Linked DNA regions of Homo sapiens: regions 2, 3, 4 and 5 are each linked to region 1. Evidence: promoter capture Hi-C in human tissues and cell types (Jung and others, 2019). All regions are on one chromosome and are shown on one strand. The core of a region is centred on a gene start or on the middle of the fragment in contact, and the rest is flanking DNA. Distances in the headings are between cores, read along the strand shown. Region 1 holds the start of TBC1D10A (TBC1 domain family member 10A). Region 2 holds the start of LIMK2 (LIM domain kinase 2). Region 3 overlaps THOC5 (THO complex subunit 5). Region 4 overlaps MORC2 (MORC family CW-type zinc finger 2). Region 5 overlaps NF2 (NF2, moesin-ezrin-radixin like (MERLIN) tumor suppressor).

Evidence for each region. Contacts are between HindIII fragments. The study calls those that stand out against the background at their distance.
Region 2: a contact is called between the fragment with the promoter of LIMK2 here and the fragment with the promoter of TBC1D10A in region 1, in 2 of the 25 tissues and cell types used here (dorsolateral prefrontal cortex and heart left ventricle).
Region 3: a contact is called between a fragment that was not itself captured here and the fragment with the promoter of TBC1D10A in region 1, in 1 of the 25 tissues and cell types used here (hippocampus).
Region 4: a fragment that was not itself captured here is called in contact with the fragment with the promoter of TBC1D10A in region 1 in 2 of the 25 tissues and cell types used here (dorsolateral prefrontal cortex and hippocampus).
Region 5: a fragment that was not itself captured here is called in contact with the fragment with the promoter of TBC1D10A in region 1 in 1 of the 25 tissues and cell types used here (IMR-90 fibroblasts).

What each region holds. Positions count from the first base shown.
Region 1 is chr22:30,325,657-30,328,367 of GRCh38, forward strand. TBC1D10A (TBC1 domain family member 10A) reads right to left here and starts at 1,285. Exons shown (of 9, transcript NM_031937.3): 1 at 1,017-1,285. The coding sequence starts at 1,225. RefSeq lists an enhancer at 1-641 and silencers at 858-907, 1,208-1,537. The HindIII fragment of the contact is 10,227 bases long and covers 1-2,711 here.
Region 2 is chr22:31,211,019-31,213,718 of GRCh38, forward strand. LIMK2 (LIM domain kinase 2) reads left to right here and starts at 1,280. Exons shown (of 16, transcript NM_005569.4): 1 at 1,280-1,406. The coding sequence starts at 1,391. RefSeq lists enhancers at 821-1,000, 1,963-2,700 and a silencer at 981-1,380. The HindIII fragment of the contact is 2,868 bases long and covers 1-2,570 here.
Region 3 is chr22:29,541,543-29,544,249 of GRCh38, forward strand. THOC5 (THO complex subunit 5) reads right to left here. Exons shown (of 20, transcript NM_003678.5): 4 at 1,887-2,000; 5 at 1,317-1,414. Among named protein-coding and RNA genes, the nearest start is that of THOC5, 11 kb to the right of the region's middle. The HindIII fragment of the contact is 4,062 bases long and covers 1-2,707 here.
Region 4 is chr22:30,952,226-30,954,925 of GRCh38, forward strand. All of the region lies in intron 3 of MORC2 (MORC family CW-type zinc finger 2), which reads right to left. Among named protein-coding and RNA genes, the nearest start is that of MORC2, 15 kb to the right of the region's middle. The HindIII fragment of the contact is 6,988 bases long and covers 1-2,700 here.
Region 5 is chr22:29,674,111-29,676,810 of GRCh38, forward strand. It overlaps NF2 (NF2, moesin-ezrin-radixin like (MERLIN) tumor suppressor), which reads left to right. Exons shown (of 16, transcript NM_000268.4): 13 at 726-831. Among named protein-coding and RNA genes, the nearest start is that of CABP7-DT, 44 kb to the right of the region's middle. The HindIII fragment of the contact is 3,908 bases long and covers 1-2,700 here.

The DNA.
Region 1 (2,711 bases), core at 35-2,534:
TGTGGGGCAACATGGGGCCCAGCTTGGAGGCAAGGTGCTGTTCCACTGCCCCACATTTCTCTGTCTGCTAGCTGGGTGTCTGGGTGCTCTCGGGATAGGACATCGGGGGGTGCTAATATGAGCAGGGACCCTGCTGTCTCCCTGCCTGCCCCCGTCCCACGCCCAAGATCTGCCCTTGGGAGGAGGCGCATACATACACAGGACATACACAGAGCCCATCTACTGGCTCCTGTGGCTGCTGGAGCTGATGGTCTGTCCTAGTGGTGGGGCTCCCTGTCGCCCTGTACGTGCTGGGAAGGGGGAGTACCTGCCCACCTGTTGCCAGTGCCAGTGGAGGAAGCTGTGTATGAGCGGATAGGGGGCCCTTCTCCGACCCTTCCATGAGGAGAAGGGACTGTCTGTCCCAGGATGGAGCTGAGGGGAGGGAGGTGACCAATGTCTGTCCATCCAGAGGTCTGTATGCCTCGAGGAAAGGGTCAGTCTGTCCTGGGAAGGGGTGGGGGCGGGGCAGTCAGTCCTGAAGTCGGTCTGAGGTCTCCTGGTGTGGGGGCAGTGAGGCGGGGAGACAAGGGCGTCTGTGGGTTTGTGGGAGGGGGAAAGATGGAGAATGAGTGTCTATGGAGGGGGGCGCCAGCCATCTGGGAGCCTGTCGGGGTGGCAGAAACAATCATCCCTAAGGTCTTGGCGGCAGGGGTGGGTTTGGGGCAGTCTGTCATTCTGTTCCACGGCTGGAAGGAGGGCACAGTCGGTCCTTCCTGGGAGCGGGTCAGTCTGTCCGGAGGGTGGAGGTGGCGGGTGGAGGTGTGGGCCCGTCCGCCCCCTGGGTCGGAAGTAGGACTGCGAAGGGGGCGGGTCTAGGAAGGCAGGGGTGGTGGGGGTGGGGCAGGGGAGGGAACGGGGATTAGTGGTCCCTGCCTGGGAGGGGGACGTGTCGGCAAGTCCCGAGGGCGCCTCCGTCCGTGTCGAGGCCCCTCGCGTGGGTGGCGCGCTCAGTCCCGACCCCCGGCGCTACTCACGCGCCCTCGGCGCCCTGCGAGCCCACGATGAAGCCGAACTTGTCGATGCGGCGCTCGGCGAAGCCGTTGGCCTCCGAGTCAGACCCGAGAGAGCTGAGTTCGTCGGTGGTTGCGGCGTCGGGGCCCTGGGCCAGGCTCTCCCGGGTTCCCGACAGGCTTTCCCCGGCCGCGGGCGCGCGCGGCCCATTCTCTCCGTTGCTCTTCGCCATCCCAGCCGCGCCCGCCGCCTGAGCTCCAGCGGCCACCTCAGCCGCCCTGCTGCCGCCGACGCCCCGCCCACGCGCGGCGCCTATTGGCCGCCGCAAGGCCGGGGGGCGGGGCTCCAGGCCCACCCCGGAGCTCTCCCCCCACGCCCAATGGGCGCCGCGGACCCCGGGCCCCGCCCACCCTCCCCCGGCGGGCGCCAACAAGCCCGAAGTGAGGGGGCGGGGCAGCCGTCACCGCAGCCCTCCCCGCCCTCCTCCGGGCTGCCAATCACAAGAACTCACCTGGACGAGCTCGGGCCTTTCCGGGTTGGCTCCAAGCGGGGCCTGTCACCTACTGCAGAGCGCGAGCCGGAGGCCCAGGGCTTCCTCCATGGATTCCTCATCTGCCTCCTGAGCCCCGCTCCCTGCGAGACCCCAAGGACGTGGTAGGGATTGTTTGCCCCATTCATTTATGAGGAACTCTGAGGAGGCCCAAGTGAGTTCAGGGACGCAGAGCGGCTTAAAGGCCCAGCCTGAGCCAGAAGTCTGGCAGTCCCATTGCACTCACTGCTTCTGGGGCTTTAAATTACCTCGTGAGACCTAATTATTAATAATCACCAGCGTTTACTGAGCCACGCACGCCCGAAGCTCTACCTACTTTCTCCTGTAGTCTTTTCCCCAGCAGTTTTATGGAACATAAACATACCATAAATTCACGTTTAAAGTGTACAATGATTTTTAGCATATTTACAGAGTTGTGCAGCCATCACAACATTCTAATTTTAGAACATTTTCATCACCCCAAAAAGAAACTCCTACCAATTAGCAGTCACTCCGCATCCTGGCTCCCCCAGTCCCTGGCAACCACTAATCTGCTTCCTGTTTCTATAGATGTCCCTTTTCTGGATATTTCATATAAATGGAATTATACAATATATGGCCTTTTATGTCTGGATTCTTTCTCTTGAACATTTTCAAGTTTCATCCACATTGTAGCATGTATCAGTGCTTCTGGATTCACATCTGCCCCAGGTATGTCTGACTCCACCCCTCCCTTTCCTGGGATAGGCCCACACCGCCATGAAAGACCTATACTGCCCCTCCTGGGAGCTGGGACTATACCAGATTTTGTTTTTCCATTCATCAGTGATGGTCATTCGCGTGTTTCTAGTTTTTAGCCATTATGAATAATGCTGCTCTGACCATTCAGGTACAAGCTTTTGTGTGGGGGCCTTATGTTTACATTTCTCTTGGATAGATAAGGAAGAGTGGAATTGCTGGGTCATATGGCAACTGTTTAACCTTTCGAGGAACTGGCAAACTGTTTTCCAAATTGGTTGCAACATGTCTTGTAATCTCTTAGCAATGAGGTATACACCATTATTAGTCCCATTTTACAGTTAAGGAGACTGAGGTAAAGTCAGTTGCCTAAGGTCCCAGAATTAGCTGTGAATATAGCCAGGATTCGAACTTAGCTCTTACCAACTGCCTATATTTGGAGGGATGGGCC
Region 2 (2,700 bases), core at 30-2,529, 890 kb after region 1:
ATTGTGCTCGCCTTTGTCTTTGCCTTTGCCTTTGCTTACCCAACTGCTGGGACCAGAGGCAGCTGGGTTGAACTTTGTCTTTGGTCAGGGGTGGGGGTGGAGGGGACAGAATCCATTTCCCTGGGCTCCATCCTCTTTCTGGTCATTTGGACATGTTTCCTGTGATCTAAATCTGATGTAAGGAAATGACAATTGTGAAAGACCCAGCGTGAGAGAATCTGATGGGAGGGTGGGTCATCAGGGACCAGCTGGCCTGGCTGATGATGTATTAATATCTTAATCACACAGAGGACCCCAATCTCCTTCCAAACCTAATGAGCGGAAGTGGTTCTCAAAGCTACTCAGCCAGCTAGCAGCTGCCATAACCCAGTCAGCTGTCCTAACTCTTAGTCCTGTAATCCCTCCTCCTCATAGAAGATTGTAAACTGGCAGCCCACAGGGCAAATCTAGTGGCCAGGTGTGTTTCATTTGGTCTACATGGCATTTTAAGAACTTTTTGATGCTATCAACATTTTTTAAAAGTGGCAAATTTCACCTAAATATCTGGATTTTTGGCATGTTTTGAAAGGTTGGAAGACCTGGGAATGGTAGGCCCATGTTCCTGCAGGGGAGTGCTCGTCTTCCAATGCGGCGCACAAGCTCCAGCGTCCTGCGCTAAACCTAATTGGCCTGGCTGAGGATCTGCTCCTGGAATGCTGGTTGGTCGCCTCCAACTGTCTTTGACTTAGAGATTATTTACTGTCAGCTTACTCATAGTGGCGCAGAGAAGTGGTTTCTCTGAGCTAGAAGCTTCTAAGAAAAGTCCATCCTCAAAGCTGTTTGTGGGATAGACCTGGCTCCTCCATTGTAATATTCCTGATTCCAAACACTACTGGAAAGAGCTCTGAACTGGCAGTTAGCAGGCCTGGGCTCCCATCCCGGCTCTCCTCCTAATGAGCGAAGCCATTTCAATGTAGTCGAACTTAGCCTCTGATCCTTAACTTTCCCTATCTGTAAATGAGGGCGACTAGATGGGTGCGGACTGTCATCCGTGTTGAGACTTCCGGCCCCCGCAGAATCAACCTTACCGGCGGGAGCACCTCGAGGGGACGCCGCTCGCACTAGGGGGCGCCAGGGCCGCTGCAGAGCCCGAGCCAGAGCCAGGGGGCGGGGCCGCGTCTCGGGAGCGAGGCCTGAGAGCGGCGGGGCGGGGCGTCGGCGGGCAGTCCCCTGTGCCAGGTGTGGTTTGGTCCTCCCAGGGCGCCGTAGGCGGTGCATCCCGTTCGCGCCTGGGGCTGTGGTCTTCCCGCGCCTGAGGCGGCGGCGGCAGGAGCTGAGGGGAGTTGTAGGGAACTGAGGGGAGCTGCTGTGTCCCCCGCCTCCTCCTCCCCATTTCCGCGCTCCCGGGACCATGTCCGCGCTGGCGGGTAAGGAAGGGCTGCTCCGCCCTGTCCCGCTGTTATCTCCGAAGTCCGGTTCCATGGCGCCTGAGGGAAACCGGCTGTCTCTCGGGGGTTTCGGGCTGGTTGGGTCCTCGTGGGTCCGAGCTCCTCAGAAAAGCTGGGAGGCGGGGTGGGCACAGCGCTCCCCAGGCATTTGGAGGGTGGGACTCCGGGAATGGGGAGGCAGGGCATCCTGGAGACAGAGGGCTCCGAGGGGCAGGCGGGTTGGGAGGCTTCCCGCGAGTTGAGGTCCCGGGGAGGAAGAGATTCTGGGTCTGCCAGGAATCCAGCTTTTTGGAGGGACCTGGCGGCCGCAGACCCCCAAATTAACCCTTTTTAAGGAAGTTGAAAAGCATGGGGTTCTCTTATAGTGGAAGCTCTGTGGAATTTGAGGAGTACAGGATCCTCTAGGGTTCAGGACAATTAGGAGAGTTACCCCGGGTTCTGGGTTTTCTGAGGGAAATGGAGGATGTGACTTCCCTGCCAAGACCCAAGGCTTCTCGCGGGCATCTTGGTGTCTGGGAGTCCCCCGGGGCTGGGAGCTCTTTGCAGAAAATAAGGGAGTATGGAGCCCCTTGAGGTTTAGGACAGGACTAAGGGTAAGGAGAGATCGGACCATTCTTTTTGGGGCCCAAAGATCTCTGCTACAGGTGGCGAAAGTAGGCCACCTGGGGTTCTGAGTCCTCCTGTGGAAGCTCCCTTGGCCTCTCTAGACTAAAGACTAGAGGGATTCGGCCAAACACCTCCTGGAAGGAAGAGTTGTCTAAGGGTGAAGGGTAGCTTCAGAGTTGGGTTAGTTGCACCTGCAGTCACCTCCCCGCCACCTCACACACCACCCTGCAGCTTCCTGCCTTCCCCATCTTTTCCCCCAGCAGTAGGAACCTTCTGTCTCCTATGTTTCCCAGCCACCTGTGTGGGTGGCCCACCTCTGGGTCCACCAGGGTCAGCGTCCAGAAGCTTTGGAGAGGCGGCAAGAGGGTATTGAGGTGGAGGGGGGCTGGCTATCTGCCCCCTGCTTCCTGGCTTTCCGTCTGTGGACAGTCACTTCCTTCATCTTGAATGCAAGGACTGGGCTACCAGTGGGTCACTTCCTCAGCAAGGGAGCATGGGATTTTCTCTTCACTGGTGATAACAGACTTCTGGAGAGAGCTAGGGGTGGAAATGCCTAAAACAAATTTTTTTAGGCTGGGCGTGGTGGCTCATGCCTGTAATCCCAGCACTTTGGGAGGGCAGGGCAGGAGGATCGCTTGAGTCCAGGAGTTTGAGACCAGCTTGGGCA
Region 3 (2,707 bases), core at 187-2,686, 780 kb before region 1:
TCAATCAGTATCATGATTATTAAAAATATTCCGGACCCACCGGGTGTGGTGGCTCACGCCTGTAATCCCAGCACTTTGGGAGGCTGAGGCAGGCGGATCATAAGATCAGGAGATCGAGACCATCCTGGCTAACACGGTGAAACCCTGTCTCTACTAAAAACACGAAATATTAGCCGGGCGTGGTGGCAAGCGCCTGTAGTCCCAGCTACTCGGGAGGCTGAGGCAGGAGAATGGCGTGAACCCGGGAGGCGGAGCTTGCAGTGAGCCGAGATCACGCCACTGCACTCCAGCCTGGGCGACAGAGCAAGACTCCATCTCCAAAAAAAAAAAAAAAAAAAAAAAAAAAAAAAAATATATATATATATATATATATATATATATCCTGGACCCAATGTCTAATAGGGCCCCTGCATATGTCAAGTTTGTTACAGATAAAAGCTGCTTTCAGTTTGCATAAACAGGTCTGATCAAGTGAGAACACTTCCCCTTCTCTTCCCGTTTACTCCTTCCTCCTTCTCATCTCTCAGCTTGGTTTTGAGGAAGGACACTGACAAACTGTAGTTTCTTCACCTGAAGGCAGCTAAGCAGCAAGAAATTCAGGTTCCAAAGAATAAAATCCATTTGCAGAAATGAACTGCTGGGACTACAGAAAGGAAAACTGGGCCAAAAGGTTAAAAGAATGTGACTGGAAGTGAGTTGCTCCCATACAACATGCCCAGAAATCAAACTGGTAATGTAAAGACCCCTGATAGGGAGAGAGACCTGCTTTTTACCAAGTGCAGAGCTCAAAACTCAAAAAGGTCAGAGAGACTTCTGAGGTTCTTTATGCAGCCTGAAATCACGGCTTGCAATTCTCCCACATTCACCCTTGCAATTTGCCCTTCTCCCAGATCCTACAGTTTTCTAAGCTCATCAGATTTCTTTTTAAAGAGAGACTTAGGCTGGGAGCGGTGGCTCACGCCTGTAATCCCAGCACTTTGGGAGGCCGAGGCGGGAGGACCACCTGAGGTCAGGAGTTCGAGAACAGCCTGGCCAACATGGCAAAACCCCGTCTCTACTAAAAATACAAAAATTAGCTGGATGTGGAGGTGGGCGCCTGCAATCCCAGCTACTCAGAAGGCTGAGGCAGGAGAATTGCTTGAACCCGGGAGGTGGAGGTTGCAGTGAGCTGAGATTGCGCCACTGCACTCCAGCCTGGGTGACAGGGCAAGACTCCGTCTCAAAAAAAAAAAAGAAACAGACTTACAGTGAGCTACATGGGAAAAAGCAGTTACCGAAAGACCACATGTGCCAAAGCCCTGTCCTCCCAAACTCACTTAAACTCCAAACATTTGGTGATCTCCTTCTGTAGGTGCATCACCTCATACAACAGGTTCTGGAGCTGCAGATGATAGGCATCTACTTTCTGCTTAGCCTGAAAGGAAAATACGATCAGAAGTGAGCAGGGCAAGTCAGGATGGAGCAGAGGAGAGGGTCAGCAAACTAAGAGAAGGTGTAAAGGGAATAAAGAAGGGGATGGGGCTGGGTGCAGTGGCTCACGCCTGTAATCCCAGCACTTTGGGAGGCCGAGGCGAGTGGATCACCTGAGCTCAGGAGTTCAAGACAAGCCTGGCCAACAAGGTGAAACCCCATCTCTACTAAAAAATACAAAAATTAGCCAGGCATGGTGGTGGGAGGTGCCTGTAATCCCAGCTACTTAGGAGGCTGAGGCAGGAGAATCGCTTGAAGCTGGGAGGCAGAGGATGTGGTGAGCTGAGATCGTGCCACTGCACTCTAGCCTGGGGGACAGAACGAGACTCTGTCTCAAAAAAAAAAAAAAAAAAAAAAAAAGAAGGGGATGGGGAGGAGGAAGGAGGAAGGTTAAAATTAAACCTTTTAACTACTACCTCGTGGGTCTGATCTCTTCCTTTCTTCAACCTGATGTGGGCTAATCGGTTAAGCTTCTTTAGAGTCATGAAATGCACACAGCTCTGGATCCTCCGTTCTTCTATTTCTATTGCCTGTGGGCAAAGAAAACAGTAAAGCCCACTGACGACAGGGCTAGCTCAGCTTCCTTCAGTCCTTCACCACTGACCCATCCTCATCTGGGGCCAAAAACGGCACCGGAGGGAGCTCAGAACCATGAGAAGGGTCATGAAGAAAATAAGAGGATGATTGTATAAGGAAAATGATTAAGAATCTCGGGCAAAAAAAAGTAATTTCTGCTTGGACTAGAGTAACAGGAATTGAAGATGGAATAAGGGCAGCAAAGGCACAATCTATCTCTACAGATCCTACACAGAGATCCCAGCAATAGTAACATCTTGTCATAAAATTTGACCTCTATAAATAACATTACAGGATAACTTAAATGGAAAATAACAGAATTATAGCCATAAAGCTTGGCTAGAATAGATTGAATGCAATAATTCTAACAAAACTTGTCAGCATAAGCACAAATACGTGAGATTCCTGGGGGAAAAAATGGATTTTAAAAAACTTATCTATCGAGTTTTTAGTCACATTGTTTAATTTCTCTGCCCCTAAAACCTCATTTATTCATTTACTATTAATGATAATTTCATTTTTGGTATCTACAATTTACTTGTACACATCCATCTTTGTATCAAGCAAATGTATAAGTACCATCATTTCTCAACACCTAGCAAAATGCCTGGCACTTAATAAATATTAATTGGATGAATGATCAAATTAGTAGGGAAAAAAT
Region 4 (2,700 bases), core at 153-2,652, 630 kb after region 1:
AATGGTAAAAGCAGCATTCTAAACCTAGCCAAGAGCCATTTGCTGTACACTACAGCCGCAAAATGTGCATGAAGACTCTGCTTTGGGATCTAGAAATTGATTCAAGCCAAGCACCTCTGAAAAGTCCCCAAGGACTACTGGCATTCTTTGGACACTGCCTAAGAAGTTACTTTCTAGGCTCTTGTGTTAGGATAGAACTCTTAGGCTGCTTTAGCACACAATCATCACTTAACAGTGGGGCTGGTATCCTTTTCTGGCTCAAGGACTTCATTTCAAAGCTTTTTCGTGTAGTTTAAAGGGTAAGAGATGACACTGGGGGGATCCTCCTGGCTACATAGTAACTGACAGCCTATAAATGGCTAGTAGTGTCTAGGTCCATGGCCACATGCAATACTGCCTCAGGGCCAAGAAAGACTAAGACAGCATTGACTTCTTCAACTTTGTAAACAGACAGTGTGGTCTCTTCACCTTGTTCAAATGCTTATGCCAATCACTTGTTTATTTAATGACTACTTAGTGATCAGCTCTTCTGTGCCTGGTTATGATGAGGACAAGAGCAGTGAACAGTACATATGCGATCACTGTCTTCATGGAGCTTACATCTAATGGATTCTACTGCCTGCAGCAGATAAGCTAGGAAGTAAAGGACAGGAGGGTTTAAGCTGAAGGAAGCTTAGAAAAGTATTGGCTAGAGCAAAATGTAGTATGGGTAAGAATTATCCAAAGAGCTTGTGAAAATAGATTCTGGGCTCCCCCTGGATAGTCTGGGTACGTCTGAGGTGGGGCATTCGCATTTCTAACAAGTTCCAAGATGATATTGACAACATCTGTGGATGGACCACCTTTTGAGAAGCACTAAACTAGAGCAAGCAAGAACTCGAAGGCGTCCCTGCTCAAAACTATCTCCTCATATATTCCACCATAGAGATAGATTCCTATCACCTGATATTTAATCAGTCAACTGAGTGATATCTGAAGCCTCCAAAGATAAAGGAAGGGGAATTCTGGATAAAGAAGAGTCTAAGCAGCTGGGGGTTGTATGTTCCCCGCCTCCCATCACACATCTTGAAAGTAAGAGAAGGCAAAGCCGAACTGCCTGCTTTGCAGCTGTGCTTCATATCCTGGGAACAGCTCTGTAAGACTGTCAAAGCCAATCTGAAAGTCTGCACATCTCCCAGAATGGCCAAGTCTGGCTTCTGCAAGCCAGACATTCTTCATCTAACTCCCACTGGGAAGAATAAAGAAAGAAAGCAGGAAAAGACAAGAGATGTCAAATGGAGCTATACATCCAAAAGTCAAAGGTGATAAAATAATGGTGTCCCCAGGAGAGGCTGCAATAAAATGACATCCAAGTTCTTCATCATACTCTGCAATCTGTTTGAGCAGTATTAATTGCAGTTTCATTTGCTCCAATTTTCCATGTGTTAATCATTGCCCTGGCATCACGAAAAGGATCTTTCTTCCAAGGAGGTGGCACTACCTACCCCAGAAGGTCAAGAAAGTCAACAAAAACAGTCTGCTTATGACAGGCATATTATGGTCTATAATAATAATCCAACTAATAATAATATGCTTTGGGTAAATGAACACCTCTACACTTTGAGAGGCTGGCTCCTTTTTTGCCCTTTTTAGGTTTAAAAATGGTCTTTAAATGTGACTTTGTGGTGACTTCAAACTACATCTGATGTTTGGAAAGATTTCCAAGTCCAGTTATCAATCAGTTTCAGAAGTGGAGATAAGAAAATACTTTCCCCCATGAACTAACAACAAGAACTTTATAGTATTAAGATTATTACTGGCCAAGCGCATCGGCTCAGCCTGTAAGCCCAGCACTTTGGGGGGCCAAGGCAGTCAGATTACTTGAGCTCAGGAGTTTGAGACCAGCCTGGGCAACATGGTGAAAAAATATATATACAAAAATTAACCAGGTATGGTGGTGTGTGCCTGTAGTCTCAGCTGCTCGGGAGGCTGAGGTAGGAGGATCACTTGAGCCCGAGAGGTGGAGGTTGCAGTGAGCCTAGATAGCACACTGCATTCCAGCCTGGGTGAAAAAAAAAGATTCCACGGACTGATTTCTCCTGTTGAATGTGTTAACAAGGCCCTGTGGTAGAAAAGTGTAGGGTTAAAGATCCCTTAGCCAAGAATCCCAATCTCCTGGTACTTGAAGTAAATCAAGTCTTTTTCCAAAATGCTATGGTGCTTAGTGCTTCTATCACACCATTTAATCCTTAACTGTCTTGACTGTTCCCTCAAGATCTAGTTATTGTTCTCTAATTATCCATAGTGCATTAATTGTCTCTCCAATTAAAGACTAAGTTCTTAAAGCAAAGACCCCCATCTCCTCCTCTCTGGACATTTCCCAAAGCATAACAGGAGTTGTACTGAGCACAGAATAAAGACACACTGGGTCCTTTTTCATTTAAATTGAAATCCAACTTCATTCTGAGTGTCAGGAACTAAACTTCCTTGCTGAAATTTACCCACCAAATGTAGTAGGAGACAGCAGAGATGATCTTTTTTAAAAAACGTCTTCCAAGTAGACTTGACCATTACGATTTGTACCTTCAACATCACTTGGAGAAGAGGCCCATTCTCTGCTTTAGCATCTGTGCATTGATTAAATAAGCCCTATTTTTCCAGCGGTAGCTGTTACCATTCCTGAGAAAGCACACTCAGATGTAAGATACATGCTTTGGCTTG
Region 5 (2,700 bases), core at 62-2,561, 650 kb before region 1:
GCACTTGAATTTGGCTTTTAGCTACCAAGGTGCATTCACTACAGTTTTCCTCACCACGCTTTGCATGTCGTTCTGGGAATATGGTTCCTTTTTGCCTGCCCTGCTTCAGGCCCCTTACTGTATTCGGGGGTCACTCCCTGTGCATGATGCAGGTTGGGCCAGGTCCCTGCACCAGGCCTCACATGCCGTGACCACCTGAGCCCCATAGGATGAGGATCTGCACCAGGGTGCGGGTGCCCTCAGTGACTGGGCTCATCTTTCTGCTGGAGAAAGTGGGCACAAGGCCCACTGGTGTTTTATCCGGGGGCTGTGAAGACGCAGTTCTTGCACATTCTGCCCTTTGCGATCCAATATAAGAACTTTGATCCTCCAGGTTCTTCCTTTGCCCAGCTCACTCTCACCCAAAAATAAAGCAGAGAAAGCTGCTGGTGCCCTCTCCAGCTCCTCTGTCTCCTGGCTGCAGAAGGTCTGGTTTCTCTCATTCCCCACCAGTTTTCCTGCTCTTCCAGTTTAGATTTACCAACTCAAACAAAAGTCCTCAGGAATGTTGTCCTTGCTTGGAAGTTCTGATTTCATGTAAATATCCCTGTCTCACTGTCCTTTTTCACCTCTTTGGGTGCCATCCTCAGGGTTAGCCCAGGTCCCTCCTCTGCAGGGGTGGGGTGGTGTCTTTTCCTGCTACCTGCCCTCTTCTGTGAAGCTGACATCTCATCCTTTCCTTGCAGGGCCAAAGAGGCAGATCAGCTGAAGCAGGACCTGCAGGAAGCACGCGAGGCGGAGCGAAGAGCCAAGCAGAAGCTCCTGGAGATTGCCACCAAGCCCACGTACCCGGTGAGCCTGGGGGCCACCAGCTGGGGCTGCCTTAGTCCTGGTGATGTTCTCTTTCCTCCCGGCCCTTCAGTTCATCTGGCGGTGCCTTCAGGGTGACCATTCAGGCAAACACATGGCTGGATGAGAGGTGCAGAGAGCCTGCAGTTAGGGACTGGGTAGAACATCCTGGTCTGCCATTTGGCTTTGGACTAGTTAGTTGTCTCTTTGGTTGCCTGGATAACAGGCAACAGGGCCTTTTCCAGCTCTGGAATGTTTTTCTTTTTCTAAGTAATATAGTCCCAAATTATCCTCAAGAGAATTTGCTCTCTTGCCTCTTAATGCTGAGCTGAATGTAATCTTCAACTATCAGTATATACCATATATCATAATTATAGTTCTGGGAAGGGATTGGCTGTACACCTCAGAGTGAATTACTGCCGTGCAAGAACGAGCAGCCACTCTCAGTTTGGGGACAGAGAGTCAGACTTCCATTAAATGGGGTCACAAAATGAATAGAAGCCTCTTTCCTTCCTTTCTTCTGTGCATTCAGTTTGGCATTTTTTTTTTTTTCATATTTGTTCAGTGTCCACATAGTGCCATGCAGTTGGAAGTCTCTATCCTGACAGGTGTTCTCAGGGTGCACAGGTGCCTAGAGGAGGAGGACACAGCCCACCCTGGAGGAGCAGGAGAGGCTCAGTGTGGTGTCTACACTGATGCTTGAAGGGGGAGCAGGAAGTAGCCAGGTGGAGAAGAGAACATAGGGTATTCAGGGTGAGGGCACAGATGCACACATGGCCCAGACTCACACACAGCACAGTCATCTACATGGCACAGACACACACACGTACCCATACATACATTGATGCACATAGCACATCCACACACACAGCACGGACACACACGCACCCATACTTACATTCATGCACATGGCACAGGCACATACATGACCCAGATGCACAAAGGGCACCAGAGGCACAAGCTGCCCAGGGTTTGAGGTGGGGAAAATGTAAGCAGTTTGCTGTTGCCGTATATCCCGGTTCTCCGTTACTGTGTAACAACCCACCCAAGCCAGCTGTGTGGCTTTGTTAGTACCTCTGGTGGCTTGTTGGGTTGACTGGGCCAGACAGAGATCCTTGCTGGGGATCTCTCTGGTGGTCACAGTCAGATGGTAGCTGGGACTGGAGTCGTCTGAGCAGTCAACTGGGCTGAACACCTGAGATGTGTTATGTTTTTATTTTTTATTTTATTTATTATTTTTTTTTTTAGAGAGAGAGAGTTTTATTTACTCTGTCACCCAGGCTGGAATGCGGTGGCAGAATCTCGGCTCACTGCAACCTTAGCCTCATAGGCTCAAGCGATCTTCCCGCCCCAGTCTCCTGAGTAGCTGGGACCACAGACATGCACCACCACGCCCAGCTAATTTTTTTTTTTATTTGGTAGGGACAGGGTTTTGCCATGTTGCCACAGCTGGTCTCAAACTCCCGAGCTCAAGTGATCTGCCTGCCTCAGCTTCCCAAAGTGCTGGGATTATAGGCATGAGCCACTGTGCCCAGCCTATATGTGTTGTTTTTAAAATATACACTGGAGCAAAGCTTATACACTGCTGTAACTGCTCTTTCCTCTTAGCAGTCAATCCTGAAGGAGATCATCCATATCAGCTTTTTAATCATGTTTTGTTGTGTGGATGGATTGTAATTTATTTAACCAGTCCCTCATGGATGAGTATTTAGTCTGTTTTCTTTTGCAATTTTGAACAAAATGACACTGAACATCCCTGAACACAAATCTTGACACACACACGTGGATATATTGGTAGAATAAATTCTTATAATAGAACTGTGGGGTCAAATTTTCGATTTTGATACTCTCCAAAGAAGTCATACCAGTTCA